2 separate regions of the Homo sapiens genome follow, and region 1 is linked to region 2. The links are contacts of gene promoters, found by promoter capture Hi-C in blood cells and fetal thymus (Javierre and others, 2016). All regions are on one chromosome and are shown on one strand. Each heading gives the region's core, a stretch centred on a gene start or on the middle of the fragment in contact. The rest is flanking DNA. Distances are from core to core; before and after follow the strand shown.

What was found. The method cuts DNA at HindIII sites, captures the fragments that hold promoters and counts their contacts. A CHiCAGO score of 5 or more calls a contact.
Region 1: a fragment that was not itself captured here is called in contact with the fragment with the promoter of TMEM158 in region 2 in 4 of 17 cell types (megakaryocytes, M2 macrophages, M1 macrophages and 1 more); the score reaches 8.3 in megakaryocytes.

Annotation. Positions count from the first base shown.
Region 1 is chr3:45,523,909-45,528,607 of GRCh38, reverse strand. It overlaps LARS2 (leucyl-tRNA synthetase 2, mitochondrial), which reads right to left. Exons shown (of 22, transcript NM_015340.4): 20 at 4,500-4,611. Among named protein-coding and RNA genes, the nearest start is that of LARS2-AS1, 17 kb to the right of the region's middle. The HindIII fragment of the contact is 840 bases long and covers 2,886-3,725 here.
Region 2 is chr3:45,223,549-45,228,572 of GRCh38, reverse strand. It overlaps TMEM158 (transmembrane protein 158), which reads left to right and starts at 2,286. Exons shown (of 1, transcript NM_015444.3): 1 at 2,286-4,107. The coding sequence starts at 2,546. The coding sequence ends at 3,448. RefSeq lists silencers at 2,040-2,379, 2,390-2,459. The HindIII fragment of the contact is 4,918 bases long and covers 1,190-5,024 here.

The DNA of each region.
Region 1 (4,699 bases), core at 2,056-4,555, 300 kb before region 2:
TGGGGGTTGGAGTGGGTGTGGGATTGACTAATGGTGTGGGGAACCTTTTTTCAGTAATGGAAATCCAGTTCTAAAACTGATCATGGTGATGGGTGCACAAGTATATAAATTTACTTAAAACACTGAGTATATACTTAAAATGGGTAAATTTTAGGGTATTTAAATTTTATAAAGAGACATGACAAAACACAACACAACACAGACAAGTGGACACAAAATACAATACACATAGGTAAGTGAACACAATCATTTTACTTTTTCTATGTTTTGTGAGACAGGCTCTTGCTCTGTCAGCCAGGCTGGAGTACAGTGGCATGATTATGGCTCACTGCAGCCGTGAACTCCTGGGCTCAAGTGATCCTCCCACCTCAGCCTCCCGAGTAGCTGAGCCTACAGACACATGCCACCACATCCAGATAATTTTAAAATTTTTTGTAGAGATGGGGTCTCCCTATGTTGCCCAAGCTGGTCTTGAACTCTTGGGCTCAAGTGATCCTCCTGCCTGGGCCTTCCAAAGTGCTGGGATTACAAGCGTGAGCCACTGCACCCAGCCACCATATCCACTGCAATGATCTGCGCTAAGATGCTGATGGTGGCTGTTTATTTCTAGAGGGTGATGGTTAGGGGATTTTTATTCTCAGTCCTTATCATCTGGGAACTGGTCTGACAATTATAGCTAGGCCTCAGTGTTATAAGAAATTCACCAGTTGTGCATAGCTAGGCCATATTATTCTCCTGTTCAACACAAATGATCTCACTGAACACCAACATCAGACAGTCACACTGAAAACATAAAAGGAGACCAAAACAAGACCATGTCATAATTTTGTCAAAGCACAAAGACAAGGTCACTGTGAAACACACAAAATATCAAACATCCCCTTCTCTAGGCAGATATGAGGGACTGCTATTTCTTTACTAATTACAACTTTATCCTTGCTCAGGTGTATCTCCCTAAAGATAAGATTTCTTTTTTTTTTTTTTGAGACGGAGTCTCGCTCTGTCGCCCAGGCTGGAGTGCAGTGGTGTGATCTCGGCTCACTGCAAGCTCCACCTCCTGGGTTCATGCCATTCTCCTGCCTCAGCCTCTCGAGTAGCTGGGACTACAGGTGCCCGCCACCATGCCAGGCTAATTTTTTGTATATTTAGTAGAGACGGGGTTTCACCATGTTGGCCAGGATGGTCTCGATCTCTTGACCTCATGATCCACCTGCCTCGGCCTCCCAAAGTGTTGGGATTACAGGCGTGAGCCACCGCGCCCGGCAAGATAAGATTTCTTAAGATACCCAATCACAAAACTGTCCCCACTTACTGACAGCACTCAATCCAGAGCAAATCCTCACTTCCTGAGACCCTTCCCCAAATTATTCTACCAAAGCCCAAATTCATTATATAACAGGTCCTTCCTAGCACCCTCTGAGATGCCCAGTGTTTCCCCCGGTAATAAACCCAAATTGTTATCTGAAGGTGTGTTCCTGGTGGTCTCTGGCTGGAGGATGCTGATAGAATTGCAGGTTCATGGAATTTCAACTGAGACTCTCACTACCTTTGACTGGAACCTTTGACTCAGAAACAGTGCATGCATCTGAGACCCACTTGTGTCTCTACCTGGATGAGGTGCCACTCACCCTTGGCTGGGAACTACGTTCATGCTGAATTGAACTCCAGGATTTCACTGAAGATTTTACTGTTGCATTTATCTTATTTTCTTAAGAATAGGTCCCATTTTGGACATTTGGTTTTTTGATCAGAATTCTATTGTTCTTTGGTGAAAATGTTTTCTAGTAACTAACATCTGCTGGCCTAATGCCCTATCTATCTGCTTGTGTACTATCTTGAATGTTGTTTGTCCACTGGGAGAGGATGGGAATAGGTCCCATAAATTTGTCCTTGAGCTAGCCCTAAGGGTGAAGTGGTAAAGTGGTCAGTCAGTTACTTCTTGGAGACACGCTGTGCCCGAGTCACCATTGCAAAATCTCATAATGACTTCTCCCTCAGTCTTGTTCTTGTGTTCCTGAGAACTGCTTTTATGTTAGTTTTGTCTACCGATAAGCAGGAGGCTTTGTCTGGCTCCTGATCAATGATGACTTGACTTTGATCAAGCACCAAGATGCAAAATTCCACAAGCAGCAACCCATGGATATGTTGCGGCTCATGTCTTGGTCTTTTCAATCTAAAACTGCCTCCTCCACCACAAGCACAGGCTTTCTTTATGTTTTCTAATTACAGCCCTAACTCCTGTGCATATCTTTTTAAGTGCCACAAATTTCCAAAGACAATTTGGAATGACAGTGATCCCTTTGGGGAACTTTTGATAGGAACAAAATTGTTCATTTGAGAGGTTCCTTAGAACAAAAAGGATAAAACAATTCTGATTATCCAATGGTATGATTTCTTTAATTGTATAAAGAGGTTTCTAACATAAATCGGACTCAAAAATTGTCTCCCTTAAAGATTCAAAATGTGAGAAACTTAAAAACTGTCTCCCCTGTAGATCCACTGAAAACACATTTCAGTTTTTCCCATCTTTCCTCACCTCCTTCGTCTTTACGTTTAAAATCTTGCTCAACTCATGAAGTCCTTATAATTGCCTTCTCCTCCTCCTCTCTCTTTCCCCTCCTACTTTAAATCAGTTGCACTACCTCATTGTCACTTAAAATTGCAACCCCTATGAAAGAGGCATCTGACACTGACTGGTAGCTAGTATTTAAGCTATGTGGTTGTGTTTAGCTCTGCATGCTATTATTAAGGACTTCCCGAATTCCAGAATGGAAAGACAGGAATTAATATAGAATTCAGACTTATCTTGGGTACACTCAACCCAGGCCTCTCTGACTTCTTCCAACTAAGCCACCTGTTGGAGGGGGCCAGGAGTTGCAAAAGCTTGGTTTAAAAAGGGTAACTAAAAGAGTAACTGGAAAGACCCAGAAGATGACTTAAGACACAATGAAATACACTTGTACTCAATCAGGATGTCTTAAAGCATATAAAGTAGGGCAGAATCTGTTGGGAGCTACACCACATCTCTTTCCTGCTAAAGTAAACTGGACCTTGATTCAGTCTTGCAAGCAGCAAAGAATGAACCAAAGGAAACTTCAGAGTCAGACCCATCCAAATCCTTACCCAGGTTTTAGGATTAGTTCCTGATTTCCAAAGCCCTTTCCACTTTTTTGGTTGATGCTTAAAGTCAGAAACTGTAGATATGGTACATAAACAAAAAACTGGCTGGCAAATCCTCCCACTACGTGAACTTCAATATTTGGCTGAACAAGTTTAATTTTAAAGTGGCTTTAGATATCAAAAAGGATAAAAATCCAAACTAAGCTCATGGGTTTACAATGAAAGCGAAATAAAACAGATTCGCTTTTCCTCAAGGAATGAAAAACACTTCCTTTTGACAGAGACACTTATACTGTAAAAAAGGGGACCCTGGAAAAATAAGTCTCATCTTAGCTAAAAAGAAAAAGGAACCACTGCTCCTCCTGAGGAATTAAGAAGCAACTCTGAGGGAGATGGTAGGGCCCAATTCCCAATGAGTCCCTCAAATCAACAAGGAGTACTATGTTTTAAAGTAGAAGGCAATAAACAAGGCTTTGTGAGAGACACAGGCAATACTCTGTCAACTATAAATCCTACTGTAATTTCCACCTATTTCCTGTAGGCATAAAGTTGCTTGGGTGGTGGGAATTTCAAATAATCCTCAAATTCTTCTTATCACTCAAGCTTACACTGAGACTCGTGGTTTGCTCAACTAAACAACATGCATTTCTTCTCTGTGACACCACATCAGTAAATTTAATTAGGAGAGATCTTTTTTTTAGAAGAAATCTTTTACGTCAACGAAACTGCCAAGTCACATGCATTTCAGATGACCTATTTCTAGAAACATCTGAAGACTTTCCCATGCATGCATGATCTTTCAGGAGCTCAATTACATGTCACTTTGCCCCTCCCTATATGCTTGGCCTAATCCCAGTTCGATGATTATGTGAAGTCCTGGTTTTGTCCAGGCTAACAGTCCCAATGATGTGGAGGGTTCTAGGGGCTGAAATTCAAGCAGGCAGTCAGGCCTGCTTTGATGCCTAGATTAGGAATAATTGGTGAAGAGTGCTGAATTACAGTGTAAGTTTAGACCTATAACTTAATTTCCACCTGTACAGTGGTATTAAACATGAGTTTTTATCTTAAAAAGACCACGCAGGTCATAATATGTGGATACTGGGGGGCTGAGTCACGAGAAGGGATTAAGATGGTAACATCAACACCCACATTAGTCTGGGCACATTATTCAAAGCAGGGAAGTGTCTTTCCTTTTGGTAGGGGTGACCATGTGGATGAAGTACTACCATTCAGAGTACAGGACAGAGAGGTTGCTGAGTATAGATGCCAAATGTTGGACCCTATATCTGAGGACATCTGAGTCCCGAATGATGTTCAAAAAGAGGCTTCGACAAATTCTAGTTAGTAGTAACTGGTCAAAAAAGGACTCTGCCACGTACCTGCCCAGATCTCTGAGGTTACATGAGGGGCCAGTGGAGCAGCCATTACCATCAGGGCACACAAAGCATCCTCAAACTCGGGGCTGTGGAGAATGACGCTCTGAGAGGCTTGCTAAGGAAGAGGAAAAAAAAGTAAGAAGACTGAGGTGTAAAAATAAGCACGGGTAAGAAAGACCATTAATGTATCTGAAGTCCAGAGA
Region 2 (5,024 bases), core at 1,037-3,536:
CCAGACGTGGTGGCGCATGCTTGTAGTCCCAGCTACTCAGGACGCTGAGGCAGGAGAATGGCTTGATCCTGAGAGGCGGAGGTTGTAGTGAGCCGAGATCGAACCACTGCAGTCCAGCTTGGGTGACACAGCAAGACTCTATCTCAAAAAAACAAACAAACAAAAATGTATTTACTGAGCCTCTACCCTGAGCTAGGTGCTTTTCCCGTTGCTGGGAACAGTAGTAAACAAGATAGAAAATAACTTCCTCGCTATCTTCTGTTCTCAAATTCCAAAAAGATAGCAAATCAATCTAGAAAGTAGGATCTGTGTTACTATTTGAAGGGTAATTACATTCTGAATGAGGGCGAGGTGACGGAGTCCTCAGGACGGCACCTGCTGGAAAAGTGGGCAGAATGCAGGTTGCTAGGATGCAGAGCTTCAGTGGCGCAACTTTGCAGGGAACTGCTTGGCTCCCCAAATAGATCTCTTGTCTTTTCCCTTTGCTGCTGCCTTCCCCCCTGCACAGACAAAGCCAGGAGTGTCTCAGGAAAGCTCAGGAAGCCTCTGCCTCTGACTGAAACCCCAGAGAATGTCATCTGCAGTCACAGGCAACAGCCTGGCTCAAAACGCACCCCTTGAAGATTAGGCCTCCCTCAGCCCTCAGGATCACTTGATATTCCTGTTCTTCAGGGTTCACCAGACACATGGCTTAAATTAAAACTGTTCTGCCACATCACTGAGCAGCTTCTGTTCCTGATATGCAAAGGTTGAAAGGAGAAGTCATTTTTATTAAAAGCAGGAAAATTCACATTGTTCTCCCTGGTAGCACCACTTCCAAGCACAAAAGTGATGGAGGCTGAAACGAAAAGGGAGTCCCATCCCCTTGGGGAAATGAACCATTTCTGTAGAAACCAAGGACCACTCTAGGCAGCCAACTTGGGCAGCACTGTTAGTAACCACATCACAGCAACCACCATGTGGGAACATCTGGGGACAGATAGACACTGGGTTGGGAGTATTATCACAGCAGCCCTGTGAGGAGGTACCACCCACCCCCCAACTCAGATGGGGAAACCAAGGCTAAGTCAGAATAATGGCTTGCTTAGATGGCAAGAGGTGGAATAAGTTGGGGAGCTTTATTTTGAGGCGTTTTTGCAACTTTCTCAGTCCCATTTTACTCATTGTTAGAAAACAATGGACAAAAGCTTCCAGAAAAGTAATCAGCCAGGATGCCTAGCAATGTAGCTGGACTCTTGGCAGACCTCTCAGGATTAGCTGGTTTAGAAGGAAGGCGGTTTTGTTGAGGCCTTTCTCTGCTCCCTCCACCCCTCCCCTCTCCGAATCAGGAATACTTGGTGCTCATGGAGTACAAGGGCTTCCAACTAAAATAAAATAGATAATAATTCAACATAAATGTCCCCTAAAGAACGATGGGAATGATGAAGGGTCGTTGAAGTTTGTTTCCAAGTGTGAGGGGCCGAACTACTAAGAAAGTGCTTTTCAATATAAATGTGATAAATCTGATCTCTTGACACGTTATTCTTGGTAGCCCTCCTCCCGTATAATATCCCAAAGGGGATGAACTGCCCCTTTGACGTGGGTTCTAACCTACAACTGTTTCATGAACACGCGCTCACTCGACCTGTCAGGACCTGTGTCCTCGGGACCCCCAGGCGGCACAGCTTCAGGGCTCACATTCCCCCCAGCCAGTCACTCTCCACTCGAAACTCCACAGAGTTCTTGGAATTTTCCTCGCTTGCTGCGAGGAGAATCCCAAGTGAGTCTGCTGTGTTGGAGCCATTAAAAAGCAGCCAAACTCTACAGATTTGAGGTAAGAGACACCGTAAAAAGGCAGAAAGAGCTAGTGGCGCGGACTTGTTTCTGGCTCATGAGTTGGCCTAGCGAGGCCCTTTCCCCTCTCTCGACCTCAGTTTCCCCTTCTGTAAAACAAAGGAGGTTCGGTAGCACTAAGGCGAGACAGCGAAGCTCCCCTCAGGCCTGACAAAAGGATGGTCTCCGGGCCCTGGAGCCTCCCTCTGAGAACGCGATTCACCCGGAGCGCGGGGGCGCCCGGGCGCGTCCGCAGGCTTCCCCGCCCGCCCGCACGCACCCCGGGCGATCCGCTCTCCGCCGCGCCCCCGCACCCAGCCCCGCCCCGGCGATTCCTCTCCCAGCCCCGGCGCGTGGAACCCCGCCCTCCCCTGAGTCCCCGAGCCTGGCGAGCGGAGGGCGGGGCGGGGCGGGGCACGCGGGAGGCGGAGCCGAGCCGGGGAATCCTGCTCTGGGATAGCACCCGGCCCCGCAGAGCAGCGCGGCAGCCCAAGGGCCCCGGCGCCGGGGGCGGCGGGGAACCCCAAACGCAACCGGGTCTGGAGGGATCCCCGCGCCGAGCCAGCCGCCGTCACCGCCTCCGCGCCGCCCCTGCGGGCTTGGCAGGCGCCCGGCGCGCCCGCACTGCGCCCGGCCGCCGGCTCCCGCGGTCCCACCGTGAGCTCGCCGGCCCGTCGCCCGCTCGCCATGCAACCGCCGCCGGCCTCGCGCGCGTAGGCGCCCGCCGCAGGCCATGCTGCCCCTGCTCGCCGCGCTCCTGGCCGCCGCCTGCCCGCTGCCGCCCGTCCGCGGCGGGGCCGCGGACGCGCCCGGCCTCCTCGGGGTGCCCTCCAATGCTTCAGTCAACGCGTCCTCCGCGGACGAGCCCATCGCCCCGCGGCTGCTGGCCTCGGCGGCCCCCGGGCCCCCCGAGCGCCCGGGCCCGGAGGAGGCGGCGGCGGCGGCGGCGCCGTGCAACATCAGCGTGCAGCGGCAGATGCTGAGCTCGCTGCTCGTGCGCTGGGGCCGCCCGCGGGGCTTCCAGTGCGACCTACTGCTCTTCTCCACCAACGCGCACGGCCGCGCTTTCTTCGCCGCCGCCTTCCACCGCGTCGGGCCGCCGCTGCTCATCGAGCACCTGGGGCTGGCGGCGGGCGGCGCGCAGCAGGACCTGCGCCTCTGCGTGGGCTGCGGCTGGGTGCGCGGTCGCCGCACCGGCCGCCTCCGGCCCGCCGCCGCCCCCAGCGCCGCCGCCGCCACCGCCGGGGCGCCCACCGCGCTGCCAGCCTACCCCGCGGCCGAGCCGCCCGGGCCGCTGTGGCTGCAGGGCGAGCCGCTGCATTTCTGCTGCCTAGACTTCAGCCTGGAGGAGCTGCAGGGCGAGCCGGGCTGGCGGCTGAACCGTAAGCCCATTGAGTCCACGCTGGTGGCCTGCTTCATGACCCTGGTCATCGTGGTGTGGAGCGTGGCCGCCCTCATCTGGCCGGTGCCCATCATCGCCGGCTTCCTGCCCAACGGCATGGAACAGCGCCGGACCACCGCCAGCACCACCGCAGCCACCCCCGCCGCAGTGCCCGCAGGGACCACCGCAGCCGCCGCCGCCGCCGCCGCTGCCGCCGCCGCCGCGGCCGTCACTTCGGGGGTGGCGACCAAGTGACCCGCTCCGCTCCTCCCTGTGTCCGTCCTGTGTCCGCGCGCGCGGGTGCCTTTCCCGCCGGAGACTCGGCCGGTGTGCTTCGTGCTGTAGTTATCGTTAGTTCCTCTTCCCGAGATGGGGCCGCCGAGAGACCCCAGCGCCTTTGAAAAGCAAGGTTTGTGCTGCGCTTCCAGTTCCGAAAAGCAGATGTTTAAGCCCTTGGACTGAGGGTGGGATCGCAGCTCCGAAGACGGAGAGGAGGGAAATGGGGCCCTTTCCCCTCTATTGCATCCCCCTGCCCGACTCCTTCCCCGCACCCACGTGCCCTAGATTCATGGCAGAAAATGACCAAATCCTGTGTATTTGTTTTATATATTTAATAACTGTTTTAAATGAAAGTTTTAGTAAAAAAAATACAAAACAAAAAGATTAAATTGCTATTGCTGTAGTAAGAGAAGCTCTTTGTATCTGAACATAGTTGTATTTGAAATTTGTGGTTTTTTAATTTATTTAAAATTGGGGGGAGGGCATGGGAAGGATTTAACACCGATATATTGTTACCGCTGAAAATGAACTTTATGAACCTTTTCCAAGTTGATCTATCCAGTGACGTGGCCTGGTGGGCGTTTCTTCTTGTACTTATGTGGTTTTTTGGCTTTTAATACAGACATTTTCCTCCAGAGATGTGTATGTAGCTTTTTCTTTATTTGATTTGGGAAAGGGAATCCCAGAATTGCAAGACGTTACCCTAAAACCTGAGCAAGGGAATCTCGGAAAAGTTAGAGAAGGGCTACTTCTGTCTCCTTTACCTGGCTGTGAGAGATAGATGGAAACAGTATTATTTGCCCTGATGGCGATTGTCTTGCATCTCACCACACTGACCCTCAGTTCCCATCCACCCCCCACCTGTCACGGTGGCAAACACAGTTTTATATGATTTAACTTTTTGCTCATTGTTCTAAGCTCTGCAAAACACCCAGGCAAGCATCAAAATGGTAAAATCAATAGTTCCTCTGAGCTGGATGGCTTTCACGAAAATGACTCACTTTAAAAGGCATGTAGATTTCTTTTCATATGCATGAACTTTAGCAGATAAGCACATTCCAAAAGCTGGTATTAAAACCTGAGATATTATTTTGGCATTTAGATTTTTTAAAAAGATAAACTCTTGGGGGATAAATAGTTAATGATCACAAGATTTTCCTCACTCTTGGTTTCCATGTTACAGTGTCTGCTGTGTAGTAGTTTCAAATTCTTCCAGGTTTTCAGAAGAATAAGTAAAAAGTCCTTAAAGAGACTTAATATTAAAAATTATTTTAAAAGCGTTTTTAAGAGACTTTGAAAGCTGCTTTCCCTTGCTCCATCTCGTCCTCATTTTGCAAGCATATCTGAGATTGGTCTAGAGCTATAGTTCTCAAAGCCTGGTCCCTGGACCAGCAACATCAGCATCACCTGGGAACTTGGAGATGCAAAACTTGGGCTCCACCCAGGACCTATAGAATCCGAAACTCTGGGATAAAGCCTAGCAATCTGTGTTCTCACATGCCCTCCAAGGCATTCCTATGCATTACCAGTTTGAGAACTGCTCTGCTGTGTT